3 separate regions of the Homo sapiens genome follow, and regions 2 and 3 are each linked to region 1. The links are contacts of gene promoters, found by promoter capture Hi-C in human tissues and cell types (Jung and others, 2019). All regions are on one chromosome and are shown on one strand. The core of a region is centred on a gene start or on the middle of the fragment in contact, and the rest is flanking DNA. Distances in the headings are between cores, read along the strand shown.

Region 1 (3,029 bases), core at 50-2,549:
ATGGCCAATGACACTGAACACTGTTTTACATGTTTATTTGCCATCTGTATATCTTCTTTGGTGAAATGACTATTCAAGTCTTTGATCCATTTTCTAACTGGACTGTTTACTTACTCTGAGTTTATATGGTTCTTTATATATTCTGGATATGAGTCCTTTGTTGGATACATGCTTTGCAAATATTTTCTCCTAGTCCATGGCCTGTCTTTAAACCTTAGTGTTAATTGCCATGAAGGCACTGTCAACAAAGTCTACACTTCAGGAAAGGTGCAGAATGGAGTTCTCTGGATATAGTCAAATCACCTGAAGAGCTTTACCCTCAGAACAGGCGAACTAGAAAAAATTCTACAAGCCAAAGAAATAAATAGCAAGCTGAAAGATAGATCTGAAGAAATTAGCCAGAATGTGGCTCAGAGAAACAAAATGATGCAATATTTTAAAAATAATAATTTAGAACCTCAGAAGGTTTAACCTATGCCTAATAGGAATTCCAGGAGGAGAGTCTAGAGTAATGTTGTCCAATACAGTAGTAGCCAATAGCCACATGTCACTACTTAAAATGTAAATTAATTAAAACTAAATGAAGTTAAAAATGCAGTTCCTTGGTTGTACTGGCCACATTTCAGATGCTCAATAGCCACATGTGGCTGGTGGCTACCATATTGGACAGTGCAGATATAGAATACTACAGGAAATCCTACTGGACAGTGCTGATCTAGGTCATAAAACAAGTCTGAACAAATTTCAAAGAACTGGTATGATACAGATGTTTTGTGGAAATAAACTAGACATTAGAAATTAAAAACAAAATAACTCCTACTGCCTCCTCTCACCTTTTTCCCCATTACAATTCCACCTCTTAATGTCTTCATGTTCTTGATGAGAAGCAGAACGTCCCTACTGTGTTCCATGGCACCAAGTTCCCCAGAACCCGCCAGTCTCTGATGACAGAACATCCTGGACCGCCCAGCTCCACACCCCAACCCAAGAAGTTCTCTAAAACACTGACCATGACAGCCTGGGGTAGGTTTCCACTTTAACATTCTGACCAAAATTCTCAACTCGATGCAGTCAGAGTCTGCGCAACCTGGGACCTCGAGCCAAGAAATCCTCAAGTGACCTTACTTGGCAAAACCAACAAAACAACCAAATACAGGTCTCAAGCGATTTACAGCTCGGTGCTTAACTCGGTCACCGGCCGAGGGGCAGCCCTCTGGCGCCAAAGCCCCGCCTCTCTATGACGTCACACGAGGAGCCCTGAAGTGGCGGTCAAGCTTGAGGCGTCATCTGGCTGCGCCTAGTGGGCCGTTGCCTTACAGTTGCTGAGAGGAGGCGAGAGGCGGGGGCGCTAGGGCCGAGATCATGTCTGACTGGGAGAGGTTTCCTTGGCAGCAGAGGACGCTAGGTTTGGGATGAAAGAAGCTGGGCAGATGCAAAATCTGGAGAGCGCGAGGGCCGGGCGGTCAGTCAGCACCCAGACTGGCAGCATGACCGGTGAGTGTCCGGGACCCTGCTCCCGCCACCCTACCTTTCGCTCTGCCCTGTGCGTCTCCCGTCATTGAACTCCAGATTCCTTGTCTGAGCCTCTTTGCCTCCCCTGCTGCTTTTGGATGTCTCCTGCCCGCCCTCTGCGTGTCCCCTCCGCGGTCGCCAGGACCAATCGGCTCGGTCGCACTGGCTTTTGAAGTCTCGCTTTTTACCCCTGTTAGCTACTTCTCACAGGACCTAGAGCTGGGGCCTCTGAGGTCAAAGAGCCTGAACATTTCCAAACGGCGCTTTTGCCTTGATTTCCAAATTAACCGCACGTGACGCTTTCCTGTATTTCGACTGCTTTACCGTCGAAGGTCAGCGCATTTTTCGGGTTGTGTTCTAATCGCTTTCCTTTTAGCAACGCCCCATCACAGTCCAAAGAAAAGCTTGCACCACGACGACGTCAGATGCGAAGACTTTTCACAGCTTGCTTTGGGTTGTCCCCCTCAGCTATGTGTATTAGCTGTACCGTTTTTTCCTGCAGGGTGAGGGCTGGAGAAAGAAGGCTCAACTTTTTAAGTGGAGAAGGAGGTAGCCACGACTAAGGCTGAAGCGTCTACTGCTAAGATACCTCTGACTCTCTTGTCCCCTATCTTTTTCTGTGCCTCTTGCGAAAGCAGCTGGGCTTAGGCTGCAGCACCTAAGTGGCATTGAGATTGGCTCCCTTTTTCACCATTAGTAACAAAGTTTAAAGTGTTTGTCGTCTCTTTTGTAGGTCAGATACCAAGGCTTTCTAAAGTCAACCTTTTCACTCTGCTCAGCCTCTGGATGGAGCTCTTTCCAGCAGAAGCCCAGCGGCAAAAATCTCAGGTATAATTTGTTTCATAGTTTTTCCCCTTAGAAAAGCAGTGGTTTAAAATCTGAGTTTATTGCTCCAGTTTCTGTCATACCTAAAACCAAACTTAACAAGGCTTAAGATTTAAAAAATATCTTTATTGATTAACATGACACTTTATAATTCCCAGCCGTAATAAGTCATCTTCCATTCTAAAAATACTTTCTGAGAATACCATGTTTATCGGGTACTAATGGTATTCATATGTCAGTTCGGCTAATAAGATTATTGTCTATACCACATAATTTCCCCCAATTATATATACTGTTGGTGTTTTATCTAGGTAGTTTACTCCTCTGCCACAGAAATATATAAATTGCCTGGAGATAGAGACCATGTCTTATTTTACCTAGCATATACCCTTTAGAGTCTAGCATTATATGAGTGCTAATTGATTAATGTTGGATGGAAGTAGTCTCTTTTTGGATCTTGAAAGACAGGATCAAAACAGATTAGAAATGGGCTGTGTGCAGTGGCTCACGCCTGTAATCCTAGCACTTTGTGAGGCTGAGGTGGGTGGATCACCTGAGGTCAGGAGTTCAAAACCAGCCTGGGCAACATAGTGAAACCCCATCTCTATTAAACATACAAAAATTAGCCAGGAGTGGTGGTATCCGCCTGTAGTCCCAGTTACGCGGGAGGCTGAGGCATGAGAATCGCTTGA
Region 2 (2,903 bases), core at 211-2,710, 140 kb before region 1:
ACTTTTACATATTATAACTATTTACTGAGTATCATCAACCAATATACTTGATACTTTAAATTTATTTAATTTCATTCTCACAACAATGCTATGATGTTGATTAACCTTGTCACTGAAATAAGCTAAGACTTCAGAGAAGAGCAGTAAATTGCCTTGCTAATAAATACTGAAGCTGTTATTAAAATATATCTTTTAATACCAAAATTCACTTTCTTTCCACTGTACAACTTGTTACAAACCACTGTCATTATCATTACCTGTATATTTTTGTTAGCTGTTAATAAATTTCCTCTGAAGTTACATAGCACCATAAAGTAATGAAAGATCTCCAAAAGTTCTTATTCTTTCCTGTTGTAACTGGACATCTTTGGTCTCCTTTCTGGTCTCTACTTGTTCTTGGATAGAGAACTCTGAACCTGCACCTGAGGCTGTCTTTTCAGATTCGTGGATATGAGTAAGAATGCCATCTACTGAGCACCTGCACTTTAATTTAAATCTTAAATTTAAAAAAATCAGAAAGAAAATAAAACCAATAATGAAAGTGGTAGTCTTTATTCTCTTAAGAGGCAAATAACAGCCTGAAACATAAATCCCACCTTTGAGACACATGTCTATCAAACCTATATTCTATACACAATTATTTGTGTATTGTGGATATTCCTTAAGGATTGAGTATGGAGAATTACGTTATACAATGACATTTCAGACTGAATCTTTTAAATTAATATTATCTCAAATGTTCTAAATGAAAATTAGCGGCAGGCTGCATGAGTAAAAAATTAGAAGATAGCACCTGTGGTGTTATTGAACACAAAGAGAATCATTGTACATCAAATATATATTTCTGAAAAGTATACTTTGATGAGCTTTTGAATTGGTTCATAAGGAAGTCTGAAAGATGGTCAAATTCAGGGCAGCAGCAGTAGAAATCATTTAATCTTTTTTTTCCCCTATATCAGAAATGCTGCAAGCGGGAACGTTTGCTTTTTTTTCCCCCTTGCCCTTTCCTGGGTCACTGCAGGTCACGTGATGACTGTCACGTGACTCGGTCAAAGGATCTTTTCCTCTTACAGCCTTGCAAAAAAAAAAAAAGCCGTTCTCCAATTAAAGCTGTTAACGTGTACTACGCTGTTTCCTTGTTGGATTTTCTTGTTCTCTGCTGCTACTGTAAAAACGAAATGAGTGGTAAGATTTGCTGTTTTCGAACATTCTGCTTTTATTTTAAGACAGAAAGCATTGTATTAATCTAAAGTCATGCCGTGTGTTTTTAAAAATAGATGCTAAATATCATCGCCATAAAATATTTTAAATTGTTGCCATGTAAATACAAAAAGGTTAGACTATGTAGAGTTATTTTGTAATTTTGTATTCCACGGAATATTCCATTCTAGGATCTTTATTTTACTAGGTTTTTCTTCTAGAGCTAAAATCTGAAAATTGGCATCAGATTATTTGGAAGCCATTGTGAACGCTGGCTTATAGAGAATGTGTAGCACAGCGGCAGCACGTTGCATTTTAAGAATTAAAACTCCTGGACAAATTTGTAATTTTATTTAAAAAAAACCTCTTAAATATGAATGTATATTAACAAGGAAAGATAAAGAAGAATTTAAGTTATACTAGTTGAAATATCTTCTTTAAGTCAGTGATGGCACTTTTTAAGAAGCAGGGGTGGGGAGCTTCTCAAATTTCTTAAGACAATTGGTTAGAATTGTTTACTCTTCTGCAGGTTTTTGAAATAGGAAATGTATCCTTAATAGCTCCATGATTGGGGTAAATCATGCTCAAATCACATAGATTATAAAGGAGCTGCTAAGTGTATGCACAGTTGTTGTCAGGTATTGCTACTCTTGTGCCAGGCATACATTTGTCAATAGGATCTGAGTTTCTTCCTTGGGACAAAATCTCCCTCATTGCATACAAATTTAAGTCAGTTTGTAGTTAATTTTCTGTTACTTTCTAAATTAAAAAGTATTGTTGGAACTAAGGAGCTAATCAAACATTTACATCATTAAATATGCAAGGCTTTAAGGTTTCGCTACTATAGACACAGGAGTAACAACAGACATGAGATGCTGTAAACGTTGTAGTTCTAAACATCGATACTTGTATTTATTATGTTTATACAATAGGGGTTTGCATTCAGTGTTGAATGTTACTTCACAGCAATATTTTAGGCATTAAATATGATACCGATAAATTGTCTTTTTAAAAGAAAATCTGGCCGGGCATGGTGGCTCACACCTGTAATCCTAGCACTTTGGGAGCCCGAGGCAGGTGGATCACCTGAGGTTAGGAGTTCAAGACCAGCCTGGCCAACATGGTGAAACCCCGTCTCTACTAAAAATACAAAAATTAGCCGGGCGTGGTGGCACATGCATGTAATCCCAGCTACTCGGGAGGCTGAAGCAGAAGAATCACTTGAACCCAGGAGGAAGAGGTTGCATTGAGCTGAGATAGCGCCACTGCACTCCAGCCTGGGCAACAGAGTAAAACTCCGTCTCAAAAAAAAAAAAAAAAAATCTAACCATGTACAATTTCTGCCTCAGGATAAAAAAAAAATTTTTTTGCTAGAGTGAAAGGATTACTTCGTAAAGAAGTAAGTTAATCAGTCTTTTTCCTGGACTACATCTAGTAATATATTTACTACTGGTTTATTTTAGCTTACATTTCTCTTTTCAGCATCACACTTAGATATAATTAAAAAACAAAGTAGAATCTTGTATTACCAAATTATAAACTATTTTAGCGGCTATCAAAGTATAAAATGGTTTGAATTGTAACTACATATATATTCGTATTTCTGGTAAAAGGAGGGCCACTTGAAGCAATTGTGTGATTTTACTATTTTAAATGTAATTAGCAATAACTTATTATTCTGATGGCAAAAGAAAAACCTATTC
Region 3 (2,788 bases), core at 227-2,726, 180 kb after region 1:
CGTTCCCCTGACCTCGTGATCTGCCTGCCTCGGCCTCCCAAAGTGGTGGGATTACAGGAGTGAGCCACCGCGCCCAGCCAATTTATTGCTCTTTATTGAAGATTTTCTATGAGCTGGGATTCTAAACCACTCTAAGCCACTCTTGAGTTACTTTTCTCTCATGTGAACTGCACTGCAGCATTACTATACGTGTTTGTTTCTCTCTTGTTCATCTGTTTTTTGCTGCAGGAGTCTGTCCCAACTACGAACTTATGAAGGTTGAGGAAAATTATTATTTCTCCCTTTCACTTAGAAGAAGCCATTTCTTAATTTAGCATCATTTACTGTTTGGAGAGGCTGACATGGTCAAAACTATCAAGTCTCAGCACCTTCAGGTTTATCAATCCTTTCTTTAGCATACTTGCTCCTGTCACTCTTTAGGCACAAACCAGGTGGCACCTTCAAGTCTAGTTGGAAATCTTCTTAGCTACGGTACTCAGTTCATTATGTGCATTCTAGTTTCTACATTACTACAGGTGACAGTGTTGCATTATAAAGCTTATGCTACTATATTAGAAGGATCCCCTTTCCTCCAGTTTCTAAAAAGATTCTCCCATTTTCCTTTAAGCCCTTCCTGGCAACCTCACCAAAAAAACATGAGTCTACAGTTTCTCCAAGATACTTTAGATTTACACTGACAGTGTCTTCAATGTCCATTCACCTTTCATCCACTACGAAGTTCCAAAGCCATGCCCACTTAAAATATTTGTTGCTGGGCACCATGGCTCATATGGGATTGTTCCCAAAGCAATCCCAGCACTTTGGGAGGCCAAGCAGGAGGATCACTTAAGCCTAGGAGTTTGAGACCACCCTGGGCAACACAGTAAGACCATATCTCTACAAGAAATAAAAGAATTAGCTGGGCGTGGTGGTGCACACTTGTAATCCCAGCTACTTGGGAGACTGATATGGGAAGACTGCTTTAGCCCAGGAGGTCAAGTCTGCAGTGAGCTGTGATAGCATCACTGCACTCCAGCCTGGGCAACAGAGCAAGACCCTAGCTCAAAAAAAAATTGTTGACATCACTTATCTTACTTCATTTGAACTGCTATATCAGAATAACATAGATGGGTGGCTTATAAACAATATAAATTTATTTCTCACAGTTCAGGAGGTTGGGAAGCCCAAGATGAAGGTGTCAGCAGATTCAGGGTCCAGTGAGGGCCCACTTCCTGGTTCACAGATGGCCATCTTTTCGCTGTATCCTCACATAGTGGAAGGCGAAACAAGCTCTCTCAGGACTCTTACAAGGACACTAATCTTATTCATGACAGCTACACCCTAATGACTTGATCACCTCCTAAAGGCCCCATGTCCAAATACCATCTCATTAGGGATTAAGTTTCAACATAGGAATTTTGTGGGGACACAATCAGTCTACTGCATCAATCAACCTCTAGTGCCAGTATCAAATTAGTTGTCTACTGTGTAACAATTATCCAAAACTTGTAAGCTTAAAACACATAGCTTAAGATCTATTATTTCACATAGTTTCTGAGAGTCAGGAATCCAGGAGTAGTTAGCTCAATGGTTCTGACTCAAATGTCAGCCTCAGGCAGGAATGCAATCATCATGAAGTTTGACTGGAGCTGGAAGGACTACTGGCTACTGGCTAGAGGCTTTGGTTCTTTGCTGTTTGGGCCTCTCCATAGGGATGCTCACTTGACTAGCTTCTCCCAGAGCAAGTGATCAGCAAAAGCGTGATAAAGATGGAAACTGCAATGTCTTTAATAATCTAATCTTAAAATTAACATTCTGCTGTTTTTTATTGGTCACACAGACCAGTCTTGGCACAGTATGGAAGAAGAATGAATCCACAGGGCGCAAATACCAGCAGGTGGTGGGGGCCATCTTGGAGGCTGGCTGCTGCAGTGGCTTGGCAATTCCAGGCAGAGTCTCATTTACAACACCCAAATAAGGAAGGAAAGAAACAGGGAGGGAAAGGGGGAACTTCTTCACATAACTTCTCTTTTCTTAGGGGGAAAATATTGTTCAGGGAGCTCTCCAATAAACTTCTATATCTCTTTGGCCTGAAGAGAATAAAACAGTTACCCACTAAGTGCCAAGGAGCCTAGAAAAATAAGTATGTGGCATTTTTTGCCTCAATCATAAAAAGAAAGCAGGAAAGTAGGAGGTTGGTATGACTTTTGCATAGACAACGGTCTACCACAAAAGTTAAGTAAAAAGCATAGCAAAGATAAACAAGTCAATGATTACAATCACATATTTTGAATATATATTTCTAAATTCCAGAAATTAAATGGTTTACTTCAAAGATGTCTGAAAATTTGTTTTTAAGTTGATATAAATGTAAACAAAAAATGCTAAATTAATATTCCTCACTATAATTATATAGCATTTTATAATATCCAGACTGTTCATATGTATTCTTTACAATAGCCTTGAAAGAAAACTAAAGCAAATATTATTATGTTAGCCCCACTTTACAGATAAGAAACATGAATCAATGGTATGACCATAGCTCACTGCAGCCTTCAACTCCCAGACTAGAGTGATGCTCCTGCTTCAACCTTCCTAGTAGCTGGCCCTACAGGCATGCCACCATACTGGCTAATTTTTAAAATTTTTTTAGAGATGAGGTCTTATTATGTTGCCCAAGCTGCTCTTGAATTCCTGACCTCAAGCGGTCCTCCTGCCTCAGCCTCTCAAATAGCTGAAATTACAGGCATGAGTCACTGCACCCAGCAAAAAATTATCATTTTTGACAACACTAATACTACAGTAATTT

The links. The method cuts DNA at HindIII sites, captures the fragments that hold promoters and counts their contacts. A contact is called where the count stands out against the background at its distance.
Region 2: a fragment that was not itself captured here is called in contact with the fragment with the promoter of CDADC1 in region 1 in 1 of the 25 tissues and cell types used here (lymphoblastoid cells).
Region 3: a fragment that was not itself captured here is called in contact with the fragment with the promoter of CDADC1 in region 1 in 1 of the 25 tissues and cell types used here (aorta).

Annotation. Positions count from the first base shown.
Region 1 is chr13:49,246,626-49,249,654 of GRCh38, forward strand. CDADC1 (cytidine and dCMP deaminase domain containing 1) reads left to right here and starts at 1,300. Exons shown (of 10, transcript NM_030911.4): 1 at 1,300-1,494; 2 at 2,246-2,340. The coding sequence starts at 1,413. LOC105370203 (a long non-coding RNA gene) reads right to left here and starts at 1,215. Exons shown (of 2, transcript NR_135318.1): 1 at 1,010-1,215. RefSeq lists enhancers at 1,161-1,723, 1,193-1,422. The HindIII fragment of the contact is 6,098 bases long and covers 1-2,606 here.
Region 2 is chr13:49,109,222-49,112,124 of GRCh38, forward strand. The region is part of intron 3 of FNDC3A (fibronectin type III domain containing 3A); the gene reads left to right. Among named protein-coding and RNA genes, the nearest start is that of MLNR, 110 kb to the right of the region's middle. The HindIII fragment of the contact is 6,783 bases long and covers 1-2,903 here.
Region 3 is chr13:49,426,646-49,429,433 of GRCh38, forward strand. The region is part of intron 3 of CAB39L (calcium binding protein 39 like); the gene reads right to left. Among named protein-coding and RNA genes, the nearest start is that of CAB39L, 16 kb to the right of the region's middle. The HindIII fragment of the contact is 4,830 bases long and covers 1-2,788 here.